Linked DNA regions of Homo sapiens: regions 2, 3, 4 and 5 are each linked to region 1. Evidence: promoter capture Hi-C in human tissues and cell types (Jung and others, 2019). All regions are on one chromosome and are shown on one strand. The core of a region is centred on a gene start or on the middle of the fragment in contact, and the rest is flanking DNA. Distances in the headings are between cores, read along the strand shown.

Evidence for each region. The method cuts DNA at HindIII sites, captures the fragments that hold promoters and counts their contacts. A contact is called where the count stands out against the background at its distance.
Region 2: a contact is called between a fragment that was not itself captured here and the fragment with the promoter of CLEC7A in region 1, in 2 of the 25 tissues and cell types used here (heart left ventricle and liver).
Region 3: a fragment that was not itself captured here is called in contact with the fragment with the promoter of CLEC7A in region 1 in 2 of the 25 tissues and cell types used here (liver and lymphoblastoid cells).
Region 4: a fragment that was not itself captured here is called in contact with the fragment with the promoter of CLEC7A in region 1 in 3 of the 25 tissues and cell types used here (hippocampus, mesendoderm cells and thymus).
Region 5: a contact is called between a fragment that was not itself captured here and the fragment with the promoter of CLEC7A in region 1, in 1 of the 25 tissues and cell types used here (neural progenitor cells).

The regions. Positions count from the first base shown.
Region 1 is chr12:10,128,778-10,131,477 of GRCh38, reverse strand. CLEC7A (C-type lectin domain containing 7A) reads left to right here and starts at 1,279. Exons shown (of 6, transcript NM_197947.3): 1 at 1,279-1,498. The coding sequence starts at 1,396. It overlaps LOC105369655 (a long non-coding RNA gene), which reads right to left. Exons shown (of 4, transcript XR_007063208.1): 2 at 238-397. The HindIII fragment of the contact is 18,210 bases long and covers 1-2,700 here.
Region 2 is chr12:9,834,656-9,837,355 of GRCh38, reverse strand. All of the region lies in intron 3 of KLRF1 (killer cell lectin like receptor F1), which reads right to left. Among named protein-coding and RNA genes, the nearest start is that of KLRF1, 8.5 kb to the right of the region's middle. The HindIII fragment of the contact is 4,239 bases long and covers 1-2,700 here.
Region 3 is chr12:9,862,849-9,865,548 of GRCh38, reverse strand. The region is part of intron 1 of CLEC2B (C-type lectin domain family 2 member B); the gene reads left to right. Among named protein-coding and RNA genes, the nearest start is that of CLEC2B, 5.2 kb to the left of the region's middle. The HindIII fragment of the contact is 5,182 bases long and covers 1-2,700 here.
Region 4 is chr12:9,795,297-9,797,996 of GRCh38, reverse strand. No RefSeq gene overlaps it. Among named protein-coding and RNA genes, the nearest start is that of KLRF1, 31 kb to the left of the region's middle. The HindIII fragment of the contact is 5,298 bases long and covers 1-2,700 here.
Region 5 is chr12:10,530,110-10,532,809 of GRCh38, reverse strand. The region is part of intron 1 of LOC105369657 (a long non-coding RNA gene); the gene reads left to right. Among named protein-coding and RNA genes, the nearest start is that of LINC02446, 22 kb to the left of the region's middle. The HindIII fragment of the contact is 6,729 bases long and covers 1-2,700 here.

The DNA.
Region 1 (2,700 bases), core at 30-2,529:
TATCACCATGTCCTTCTGTCATATAGATAGGCAAAGTTTCTCTGTCCTCTGGATAAGGGCCAATTAACAAATCCAGAGAGTCTAGTCACATTAACTTTCCTTAACACCACTCAGTATCTTTTCCTTAGCAAACTCCACTTTAAAATGTCATCAGCTTTACTTTTGGGGAAGTTGAGTTCAGTTAATGCTGCACTGGTTCCTGTTGCAATAGTATTACTGAATAAAACCTGTCCTCACCACATTAACTAGTATCCAGATTTGTTGATCCTTGACAACACTCAGATGTCTCCTGCACTCTACTGGCTTCAAGGTCGGATAAATGAGTTGAACACCTCTTCAGTTTCCAGCAATGTTAGGTGTTTTCTATATTTCTTTGATTTGATCATTACTATGGAAACTGGAAGAGAGGGAAAAAAAATCAAACATCTAACATAATATTTCAGTCCCAACACCTTCCATAAGCTGTTCCTTGCAATATAAGTGTATGGAATGATGAAAGAGGCAGTGTAGCGTAACAGAAAAGACCACGAGTTTTGCAGCAAGAGTCAGCTTTGATTTGATTCCTTGCTCTAAATTTTTAAAATTAGCTTCTTAAACCTGAGAAAGAGGCTAAATTTTCTGTCTCATTTTTTCATTTGAAAATAGAAATAATAATGCCTACTATATAGACTTGGAAAAGTGAGATTGAACAAGAAAATATGTACAACATGTGGTACTTAGCTCATAGTAATTGTTCAATAAATGTTATTTTGTGTTAATATCTGATAATTCCCAAAGAGATTTGTTTTCTCTGTCTGTTGTTACAACAATGCATCTCCTCATGCCATCCCTCATTTACCTATCTATATATTTCCTTTATTAAGCAATGAGTTTCTTCATAGGTATCATTTTTCCTTGTATTGTAAGCTCCTACCAATTGAAAAGGTGGGCATCCAGTACCTGTTTATGTAATTTAAAAAATACATGAATAAATACATGAACAAAGTTATGGTAAACTTGGAGCACCAAAACTGAAATAGTTTGCATCGGTTAAATTAATTAATGTCAGACTTAGTTGTGAGAGTAATGAAGGCAGCATAAGACATTAATGTATGCATTTTTCTTACATTTGGTCTGAAACAAAGACTCATCTGCTATGCTGCCTTTTAGTTTTCCTGAGTCAGCAGTCTCAGAAACAGGATCTAAAGGTACAAATGGAAAATTACCACAGCATAGTTTCATTTCCTGCTCTTGAATATCTGGTTGAACTACTTAAGCTTAATTTGTTAAACTCCGGTAAGTACCTAGCCCACATGATTTGACTCAGAGATTCTCTTTTGTCCACAGACAGTCATCTCAGGAGCAGAAAGAAAAGAGCTCCCAAATGCTATATCTATTCAGGGGCTCTCAAGAACAATGGAATATCATCCTGATTTAGAAAATTTGGATGAAGATGGATATACTCAATTACACTTCGACTCTCAAAGCAATACCAGGATAGCTGTTGTTTCAGAGAAAGGTATATATATGTTTTTTCTAATGTGTGCCTTTAGCTCTCCCGTTTGAAAAGATATAAGGGGAGGCTAGGCATGGTGGCTCACACCTGTAATCCCAGCACTTTGGGAGGCCGAGGCGGGTGGATTGACTGAGGTCAGGAGTTCGAGGCCAGCTTGGCTAACGTGGTGAAACTCTGTCTCTACTAAAAATACAAAAATTAGCCGGGCATGGTGGTGCACGCCTGTAGTTCCAGGTACTTGGGAGGCTGAGGCAGGAGAATCACTTGAACCTGGGAGGTGGAGGTTGCAGTGAGCCAAGATCATGCCAATGCACTCCAGCCTGGGTGGCAGAGCAAGACTCCATCTCTGAAAAAAAATAAAAATAAAAACAAAACAAAAAGATATAAGGGGAGAAAATTTGAGAGCCTCGTGATGTGTATATTTTTATGGATATACTTTTAAAGGCTTCAGATGTCACTGAAGATAAATTGAATGCACCCTAAACCTTTTTTCATGAAAATTATTCAGTGACCAATTATTAGTGTTTAAATTAATTATGTCTGATGGCAGAAAATAGAATTTCTCTTTTCTATAGATATAGACATTTCATCAGTGAGGAATTGGTAATAAGTGGGATAATACACAAAGATAAAGGATTTCTGTATGAGTGACTTGTTGCTTGTTTGATAGAAAGGCTAGATTATCGAATGGAGGCCAGGAAACTTAAAGAAGTATATATATGAACAACATTTTTTTTTTGTGGTAAGAGATTAATTTAAATTGTTTTTAAACAAAAAACAATTATTGGTATACCAGTGATGGAAAATATATGAACATATGGTAGATAAAAACATCCCACCAGCAGGACATGAGTCTTAAACAAAGTGTAAATGAAATGAAATAGAAAGAAGGGCATTGGAGGATCTCTGTATTCATAGAATGGGTGATTTAGCCTACTCTACGATTCTCCTATGTGACAATTCTATGAAATGTCCTGACAGCTTAGTCACAGTGGAAAGCAGAAATACATTCTGGTTATGGCAATGTTCATACAAAATTAGTTCCCTATTATCTTTGAGAGAGAGAGATCATTTGTCGGTTTTGACACCAGAGTTTGCTTTCTTCTGCTTTCTGGTTATTCACACTGCACAAATATTTTCCTCTCAGCACTGATGTAATTCTTTTCTTGGGCAACCTATTGAGGAAGCGTGGAAAAAGTGGATGA
Region 2 (2,700 bases), core at 154-2,653, 290 kb after region 1:
ATATAGAGATACATATAAGTATATATGTATCTATATTTATAGATATACATGCACAATGGACTATTATTCACCCATAAAAAGGAATAAAATGTGGATGAACTTTAAAAACATTATGCTAAGTGAAAGAAGCCCAAGGCCAAATATTGTGTGATTCTATTCCATGAAAATCCAGAATAGGTAAATCCATATAGACCGAAAGAAGATTTGTAGTTGTCAGAGGCTAAGGGGAGAGAGAATGGAGAGTGATTTGCTTGTTGGGTATGTAAGGGATTTATTTTTGGGAAAAGTTTTTCAACTAGATAAACATGGTAGTTCACAACGTTTGAAGGTTCTAAACATCATGAAATTGTTTACTTTTAAAGGTTCAAATTTTGAATTGTACCTCAGCTAAGAAAAGGAATAGGAAATAAATATATTGTAGCTCAATATACAGTATTTATACCTACTTTAATTAATGTTTACTGCCATGTACATGATTCCATGTTTACCTACCAAAGCCGCCTTAATTTTTCTAAGGTGTCATTGCAATGATACCCAACACAGTGACAGACATTACAGATAGGGAGACAATAAAATATGAGGTAAAGCTACAATATCTATTAGTTTGGGAAATATACCTGTAAAACAGACAGATAAGCCAAATGAAGACAGTGTCAATAAGTAGAACATAAAATATATAAAATTTTCACGTATGATAAAGGAGGAAATACGAACTAGTAGATTAGAAAAAAATCCTTTTATAATAATTATACATTTATCTGGAAAGTCATAATATATCATCTCATACAATAAAACAAATGTCAAAATGATCAGTTAAGTATCAAAAAGTTAAACTTAAAAGTAAAGAATAGAACTTCATCAGGGTGGAAGTATTGGAGGGTCCCCTGCCAGCAAAGATCACCTATCCACTCTAAGAGGGAGTTAAGACTGGCGGTTTGGGGATAGCACCAAGAGATATCAGCTGTGATGGCTTGGAAAAACAGTGTAAACCGGCAGTGTAAACAAGAGTAGGGCATTTATAAGTAGTTGAGAATGGTGAATAGGAGTATGACTAGACAGAAGATAGTAGGGATGACTAGTTTTTGGGGCTCGGTCCAAGTAGTGGGGGTAACTTCGTAAAGCCCTGTTGCAAAAAGTAGGGTAAGGACAAACAGACCTAATAGAATGAAGGGATCATTCCCATTCTTATGTCACCCTCTACCTCTCCCCAGCTATCTCCACCACACTACCAACGTTACTTATTCTCTCCTAGCCATTTCTAATCTCTCCTTATTGAACAACTGCTGGCTTTGCATTTCCCTTTCTTCCAGCGCCTACACAGCTGCCCCCACCTTACATGTAGACTGGGCAACATCTGTCTCCCTATACCTCTGAACTTCCTTTAACAGCCCTCACCTTTACCCTCCTGAAGAACTCATTTACTTTCTAGACAGGTCCAGCAAGACCTCCCCAGACATTTCATATCAGCAAGCTGCCGCCCTCCTCCACACTTACTTAAAAAACCTTTCTCCTTATATCAACTCTACTCCCCCCATATTTGGACCTCTCACAACACAAACTACTATTCCTATTCCTGTGGCCACTCCTTTATGTATCTCTCGGCAAAGACCCACTGGAATTCCCCTAGTAACCCTTCACCTTCTCCATGTTCCTTTACTCTTCATCTCCAAAGTCCAGCTATGCATGTCACCGAAACAATTGGAGCCTTCCAGCTCCGTATTACAGAAAAGCCCTCTATCAATACTGGCAAACTTAAAAATATTAGCAGTAATTATTGCTTAGGAAGACACTTACCCTGTATTTCACTCCATCCTCGGCTACCTTCCCCTTGCTCATCAGACCCTCCTCCCAGGCCCTCTTCTTGTTTACTTATACCCAGCCCCGAAAATAACAGTGAAAGGTAGCTCATAGACACTCAACATTTTCTCATATACCATGAAAATCGAACCTCCCCCTCTACGCAGTTACCCCACCAGTCCCCATTACAACCTCTGGTGGCTGCCGCCCTAGCTGGATCCCCAGGAGTCTGGGTACAAGACACCCCTTTCAGCACTCCTCATCTTTTTACTTTGCATCTCCAGTTTTGCCTCGCACAAGGTCTCTTCTTCCTCTGTGGATCCTCTACCTCCATGTGTCTACCTGCTAATTGGACAGGTACATGCACACTAGTTTTCCTTACTCCCAAAATTCAATTTGCAAATAGGACCGAAGAGCTCCCTGTTCCCCTCATGACACCAACACGACAAAAAAGAGTTATTCCACTAATTCCCTTGCTTGTTGGTTTAGGACTTTCTGCCTCCACTATTGCTCTCGGTACTGGAATAGGAGGCATTTCAACCTCTGTCACGACCTTCCATAGCCTCTCTAGTGTCTTCTCTGCTAGCATCACAGACATATCACAAACTTTATCAGTCCTCCAGGCCCAAGTTGACTCTTTAGCTGCAGTTATCCTCCAAAACCACCGAGGCCTTGACTTACTCACTGCTGAAAAAGGAGGACTCTGTATATTCTTAAATGAAGAGTGTTGTTTTTACCTAAATCAATCTGGCCTGGTGTATGACAACATAAGAAAACTCAAGGATAGGGTCCAAAAACTTGCCAACCAAGCAAGTAATTATGCTGAACGCCCTTGGACACTCTCTAATTGGATGTACTGGGTCCTCCCAATTCTTAGTCCTTTAATACCTATTTTTCTCCTTC
Region 3 (2,700 bases), core at 198-2,697, 270 kb after region 1:
TCTATCTCTCCCTTTAGATCAATGAATGTTTGCTTTATATACTTGGGAGATCTGGTGTTGGGTCCATAGATTTTTAGAACTGTCATATCCTCTTGCTGAATTGACCTCTTTAGCATTATATAGTAACCTTTGTCTCTTTTTAAAGTAGTCTTTTAAAGTTTTGTAATCTATTTTATCTGATATAAGTATAGCTGCTCCGGCTTTTTTGGTTTCTATTTGCATGGAATATCTTTGTTCATCCCCTTCACTTTCATTCTCTGTGTGTCTTTATAGGTGAAGCAGATTTCCTGTAGGCTGCATACAGTTAGGGTTTTCTCTTTACCAAGTCAGCCACTTTAACTTTATGCTTTTTTTTTTTTTTTTTTTTTGAGAGAGTCTTGCTTTATTGCCCAGGCTGGAGTGGAGTGGCATGATCTCAGATCACTGCAGCCTCCAACTCCTGGATTCAAGCGACTCTCCTGCCTCAGCCTCCTGAGTAGCCAGGATCACAGGCATACACCACCACACCAAGCTAAGTTTTGTATTTTTAGTAGAAATGTGGTTTCGTTATGTTGGACAGGCTAGTCTTGAGCTCCTGACCTCAAATGATCTGCCTGCCTTGGCCTCCCAAAATTCTGGGATTACAGGCGTGAGCCACTGCACCCGGCCTGCACTTTATGTCTTTTAATTGGAGAGTTGAGTTCATTTAAATTCCATGTTATTGTTAAGTAAGGATTTTCTGGGGCTGTTTTGTTGCTTGTTTTATGGTTGTTTTTAAATTTCTCTCTTTTTTCTTTTCTTACTGTCATTCTTTGGGGTTATATAATTTTCTCTGGTGGTATATATTAATTAGTTGCTTTTTATTTTTAATGACTCTACTATAGGTTTTGCATTGTGATTACTATGAGGCTTATAAAAAATCTTATAGATATAACAAGTTATTTTAAAGAGATAACAACTTATATCACAAAGAATAGCAACAAAGGAAAAAAACACTTTTACTCCACCCTCACACATTTTTAATTTAGTTTTCCCAATTCACATATTTTTATTGCTTACCTCTTAACTGGTTTCTGCAGTTATCATTGTTCTTGATAGATTTATCTTCCAGTCTTCATTACTAGGGATATGAGAAGATTGTGCACCACAATTACAGTATTAGAGTATTCTGGGTTTGTGCATACACTTAATTTTATCAGTGTATTTTAGATATTCAGCTGTTTTCTGTTCGTGTGTTTTTTTCTTTTTGGTTGAAGAACTCCCTTTAGCATTTCTTATAAGATATGTCTGGTGGTGGTGAATTCTCTCAGTTTTTGTTTGTCTGGGAAACATTGTCTCTTCTTCATATTTGAAGGTCAGCTTTGCAGGATATGGTATTCTTAGATGGCAGGGTTTTTTTTTTTTTTCAGCACTTAAAAAATGTCATCACTTTTCTCTTGGTCTGTATGGTTTCCACTGAGACGTCTATCATCAGATAAATTGGAGCTCCTTTAAATATTATTTGCTTCTCTTCTCTTGCTGATTTTAGGATCCTCTCTTTTTCCTTGACCTTTGAGAGTTTGATTATTCTATGCCTAGGGGTAGTCTTGTTGGGGTCGGAATCTGTTTGGTGTTCTCTGACCTTTATCTGCCTGAATCTTTATCTCTTTCTCAAGCTTTGTAATACTTTCTGTTATTATTTCTTTGAATAAGCTTTCTACCTCTTGCTCTGGTTTGACTCTCTCTTAAACACCAATAATTCTTAGATATGGTCTTTTGCAGTAATTTTCTACAAGATGTTGGCATTCTTCCTTCCTTTTTATTCTTTTTTTCTCCTTTCCTTGTGTATTTTCAAAAGCCCATCCTCATGCTCACCGATTATTTCTTCTTCTTGATCCATTCTCTTTTGAGAGCCGCTAATAAAATTTTCGGTTCAGCAAATGTATTTTTCAGTTCCAATATCACTTTTTGATTTTTAAAAATTATTTCAATCCCTTTGTTAAATTCCTCTGATATATTTCTGAATTGTTTTTTGTGTTATTTTAGAGACCAGTGAGTTTTCTTAAAACTACTATTTTGAATTCTTGGTACAAGTGCTCACATATTGCCATTTCATTAAGATCTGTCTCTGATTCCGACTTTGTCCATTTAGGGGTATCGCAGTTCCCTGTTTGCTGTTGTTTCTTATGGATATGCATCTATGTCTTTGTGTTGAAGGATTTTATATGGCTTGTTTTGGTTTACATTGAATATGTTTGTTTAAATATTCCTTGTAATTTACCTGTCGATTTTTTTGGGGGTGGGGGGCGGCAGCTAGGTTTCGGCCTCCTTGTTATGACTACATGGTGCCTTAACCCAGGTTTGCCTTGGTTCTAGTAAACAATTAGAGTGCCACTCATACCAAATGAGGGTGCTTCCAAAGGGGATATCCCAGTAGTGTGGGAAGACTGACGAGGTGTTCCAGCCCAGGGGACCTGTGCAACAAACCTCCTATACCATGATGCTGCTCGACAGCCACTCTAAGTTGACATCTCCTTTGGCCAAGTAACAGAGCACAGTTTCTGGTATTGGGGATGGTAGTCCTGCCTCCCCACTTTGTCTCTGCCTGTCCTCGTTCAGGCACCCCGATGCTTCCCAAGTGTTAAGGCAGGGGCAAGTTTCCTGCCAGGAAACTCAAGCTGGTGGGGAAGCTGGTTATCCATCTTGATCTCACTTTTTCCAGTATAGAAATGATGTTTCCAT
Region 4 (2,700 bases), core at 69-2,568, 330 kb after region 1:
TACAAAACAATTACTCTAATTATTTTTTTAAAATATTTTTAAGCATCTGTCCTGATCTGGTCATTGTGCTCAGTATTGCCACACTGCCTATTATTATGTGCCTGCATTCACCATCTGTTATACAGCAGGAATAATGAATAGTTTCATCTTTTAAATTTTAGTTTTTAGGATTATCTCCCCCTCCAAAAACATTGAAATGATTACAATTATATAAATTAAAGTAATTTTGATTTAGGATATCCCCCTACTATTAAATACCAAATAAGACAACTGAATATGCATTTCAAGTTTATGAATGCAAATAAACATATATGTTAATGATTAGGAACCCTCTTGTATTAGAGTCAATTGCCCTCAAGCTGGTAAAGAAATTAGAGTTTCTTTTTCCCAGCTTTATTATATAAAAAGTTTATATGCCACAAATAGGCTAATTTGATTGCTTTATAAACATATTGCCTCTTTAAAATACAAAGTAAAATAACTTGCAAAAGGAACTTGAAATCTGTCAATGTCAATCTGTTCTAGCACAATCTATCCCAAATCTTCAATAGGCCTGAAAACTCCAACATTACTGTAAATTCATTTATTTTCTTTCTTTCTTTAAGGAATAAAAAAGAGAGTTAGTAACTTACTCTGTTAGGCATTGCGCCAAAGTAAGTTCCACTAAAATTTGTGTAAACGTTCAATGTGGTGTTTATTTTTTTTTTCTGAGAATTCCTTGTCCTAAATGATGCTTACTTCCTGTTTAACATTTACGAAGAAAACAATATGCAACACATACTTTAGCTGAAGTTATAATGGAGTTATCATTACAGTTCATTACAGCCAGTCCTTGTTACCCAAGATTAGATGCATAAAAGGCTGATCGCCGGCCCCTGCCTTTTGAAAGCTACCTAATTGTAAACGACAGCATGTATTAGATTGGTGCAAAAGTCATTGCAGTTTTTGCCATAATTTCAACAGCAAAATGAATATGCCTGCTCCCCCCAAAAATGTGGTTGGAATACTCGTAAAAAAGAAGAAAAAAAATTATTCACAGAGGTCTAAAATCCTGAAACCAGCTCAAAGAGTATCTGAATGTTTATATTGTTTTGAATTGAATAAAATGAGCAGTGAAAAAAAACAGACAGAAGTATGTCTGTTTCCAATTTATTCTGTGTCCTGGAAATAAATTTTTTCTCATTTTTTCTTTAAAATGAAATTCACACACACACACACACTTATGGGAAGAAATTAACAAAAGATCTCTAACCAGAGAGTATAAAATTTCAGGCAGTCTCATGAAAATAATTCACCATAAATCCTCCACTATCAAATGATTACATAGGAAACTGCATATTATAGTTACAATTATGAGTACTTTAAAGAAAACACCTAAGAAAGTTAATATGAAACACAAAACAACCCTTATGTGTAATTCACATGAAGAGATTGATAGTGGTAGAGTCAGCGGCAGCATTAGAAGTGGTAAAGATGGTGATGTTGATATCACTAGTATTATCGATACTACTTCTCTAGCAACCAAAGGAAGGAAGTGTATAAAGGAAAAGTAAAGATCAATTACGTCAAATTTTTCTGAGAAGCCCGGTAAGAAGAAAACCGAAAATTAAATATATAATATAGCAACATATCAGTAATTATTTAATACCTTGACAAAATCAGAACAAAAATTATTCTGAGAGTTATCCAGAAGAATAATTACAGCAGAAAAGCCAAGATGGTTTTTCCTCCTAAAGGAAGAAAATGGTGGGGTCTTTAAATGACAGATATTAAATAATGACAATCAAAACAACAATGGTAGTGTCTTCCCAGACAAATTCAATCACCATTCAGATCTCAGCTCAATTTTTAATTTGTGGATAATCAGAAGGGATGTGGACTGACACTGTCAATCATGTGGTTCTTCCTAAAACCCATGTAAAAGCCAATGCGTTCGTCCTCACAGTATTCCAGTGGTTGACATACTCCCCCTCCTTGATTTCCACCATTCTCCTGTAGAAAATATATGAAAAGTGTTGAGGATGTAAACTTAAATCATGATAAATGTTTGGTGGTTAACTGATGCAACAAGAGGAATCAATACAAGACACGCTATTTGAAAAAGTTCTATTTCTCAGGCTAGACCTCCTGGCCAGGATGCTGCCAATATCACCTGCCCAGAAAAAAAGAGCTGGAGATTTTTCAGCGAGCTCAGGCTGAGTATATATTGGACCACTGGAAATGAAATTTTGAGAGGTACAGAGTCACGGTACCTTTCAAAGCAGGGTAAAACCAAAGAGAATATATGGTACACGAAGGTAAGAAGGCTTCTGCTTCTTACTTCTTGGACTTGCTATCTGCATATCACGTCTGCAGTGCCTTTTTCTCTCAGGAGCACTACCATACTTACAAATGAGAAATCTAGAAGAAATCTGGATTATTCAGAGAAGTCCTCTCTGATCACATCTTTTAATATAATCATCCTCGATCTACCCACTCTCGCTCACTATCATATGTACACATCGATGTCTGTATTAATTAAACAAATACTTATTGAACATCTGCTATCACCTGGCAATGTTCTCGGCACTAGGTATATAGCAATTAGTACAAGAAAACTGATGCCCTTATGCTGCTTACATTCAAATGAAGGGAGATAGGCAGCAAACAGAACAATCTTATACTAATAATTCGGCTGGAGGAAAAGTGCCTTGAAGAAAC
Region 5 (2,700 bases), core at 197-2,696, 400 kb before region 1:
GAGTGGCATGAACTCAGCTCACTGCAACCTCTGCCTACCAGGTTCAAGCAATTCTTCTGTCTCAGCCTCCCAAGTAGCTGGAATTTCAGGTATGCACCACCATGCTTGGCTAATTTTTGTATTTTCAGTAGAGATGGGGTTTGTCATGTTGGCCAGGCTGGTCTCAAACTCCTGACCTCAGGTGATCTGCCCACCTTGACCTCCCAAAGTGCTGGGATTACAGGTGTGAGCCACAACACCTGGCCTGCTTTGTGTGTGTGTGTGTGTGTGTATCTGTTGCATGTTTTTGAGTTGAGGTTACCATGAAAATTGCAAATACTATCTTATAACACATTATTTTAACCTGATTACAACTTAATACTGCTTGCAAATACAAATGAATTAACAAGAAAAAGGAAACTCATAAAAACTCTGTTTTAACTTCATTTCCATGCTTTTTAACCTTTGTTGTTTCTCTTTATGTGTTATTGTACTACATCTTGAAAAGTTGTTGTAATTATTATTTTGATTGGTTCATCTTTTATTCTTTCTACTTAAGATGAGTAATTTACAAACCACAGTAACAGTGTTATAATATGTGTGTTGTTCTGTGTACTTACTATTACCAGTGAGTTTTGTACCTTCAGAAGATGCTTTATTGCTTATTAACATCCTTTTCTTTCTGATTGAAGTACTCCCTTTAGCATTTCTTATAGGACATGTCTGGTATTGATGAAATCACTCAGCTTTTCTTTGTCTTGGAAAGTCTTTATTCCTCCTTCATGTTTGAAGAATATTTTCACCAGCTATACTGTTTATGCCTATTTTTTTTCCCCTTCAACACTTCAAATATGCCATGCCACTGTCTCCTGGTCTGCAATGTTTCCACTGAAAAGTCTGCTGGAAGATGTATTGGAGCTCCATTGTATGTTGTTTCTTTTCTCTTGCTGCTTTTAAGATCCTTTCTTTATCCTTGAAATTTGAGAGTTTGATTATTAGATGGCTTGACGTAGTCTTCCTTAGGTTAAATCTGCTTGGTCTTCTATAACTTTTGTGGACTTGGATATTGATATCTTTCTCTAGGTTTGGGAAGTTCTGTTATTATCCCTCTGAATAAACATTCTACTCCTTTCTGTTTCTCTACTTCCTCTGTAAGGCCAATAACTCTTAGATTTACCCTTTTCATGGTATTTTTTAAATCCTGCAGGGATAACTTTAGGTTTCTAAAAAACTTGCAGAGATAGTGTAGAAGGTTCCCATAGATCCTTGAGTGAGTTTCACTTTCCCCTAATGTTATTGTCTTACATTACCATAAGATGATACATCTTACATTTGTCAAAACTAGGCATCCTATACTGGTATGTTACTGTTAACTGTGCTGAAAACGTCATTCAGCTTTCACCCATTTTTCCCATGAATGTCTGTCTTCTGTTCTAGAATCATATCCAGGCCTCCACATTGTATTTGGTCATTACATCTCCTTCATCTCCAAATTATGACCATCTTATTTTTTATTAAACACCTCAAGTAATGATAGACTCAGTATCTATACTTCTGGAAAACCAAAAATTTTTTAAAGTTTTTTTTGCATTATTGCTTCCATCAAAATGACATTAAAAATTGGTCACTAGAAAACATAAGAGAGTCATTTTGGTATTTTCTGTATAAAACATAACTCAACCATTATTTCATATATTCAAACTCATCCATTATTTCATATAAACCATAACTGACCATTATTTCATAACTGTCAGTTTAAAACAGGAAATACAATTAAAGATATGTAAAAATGCAAAATATGAGAAAAACAATCCCTATTTTTATTATATAATGTTTTGTTTTTGGTGACAGGTTTACTGAACTAAAGATTCTCCCTTTGCCTTAGAAGCTAAGCTACAGTCACCTAACTTTTACCAATTTAAAAATTTTAAAGATAGGTGAAAATAACAGTATATAGGAAATACACAATATTAAAAATAAAAAATAAAAACCTATTACCTCTTGGATTTTTGTTTTTGTTTTTGAAAAATCATTTCAAAATTTTATGCATGCTGCCTGCTATATTATAAAGTTCACATTAATTCAGCTATATCCTGATATCATTCTGCTGTGTTCTATTCATGTTATCATGAGCCTCTATCTCTCTCTCTTATTTTATGTGCTTATTCACTTATTTCATCTTGGGGTTGTATCTTGATTTCTATTAACTTTATTCTTTTATTAAATGTCATTTCAGTTTTTAAAAAATTTAATACTGGCTAGACTTGGTGAACATAAATATAATTTCAGTGGACATTAAAAGATAAACACAAGTTGAGGTAGAAAAGAAGTATAGGAAACAATTGAAGAAACATTAAAAATACATTGATATTTTTGGGTACAAAAGTGTGTGGGTGTTTTAAGGAGAGAGGAAAGCTTTGGGAAAATGGTCTTTATAATCAACCAATTAATAATAACCTCATCCTTTATTCAAAATAGTTACAAAGTTAAAATCCTTAAAAGAAAATAGATATGATATACCTATACTCTGACAATAATATTTTATAGATATTGTTGATAAAATATCTAAGCCTATATAGTTTGCTAGATTTTCAAGAACCTCTTATATTTATTTTATTTAATAAACCTTGAAGTTTAGTATTAAAATGCCAAAAACTAAAATTGTTAATAATTACCTGTCTTTGGTGGTTTGCCCCATACTTTTAGGGACAGGTGTATATC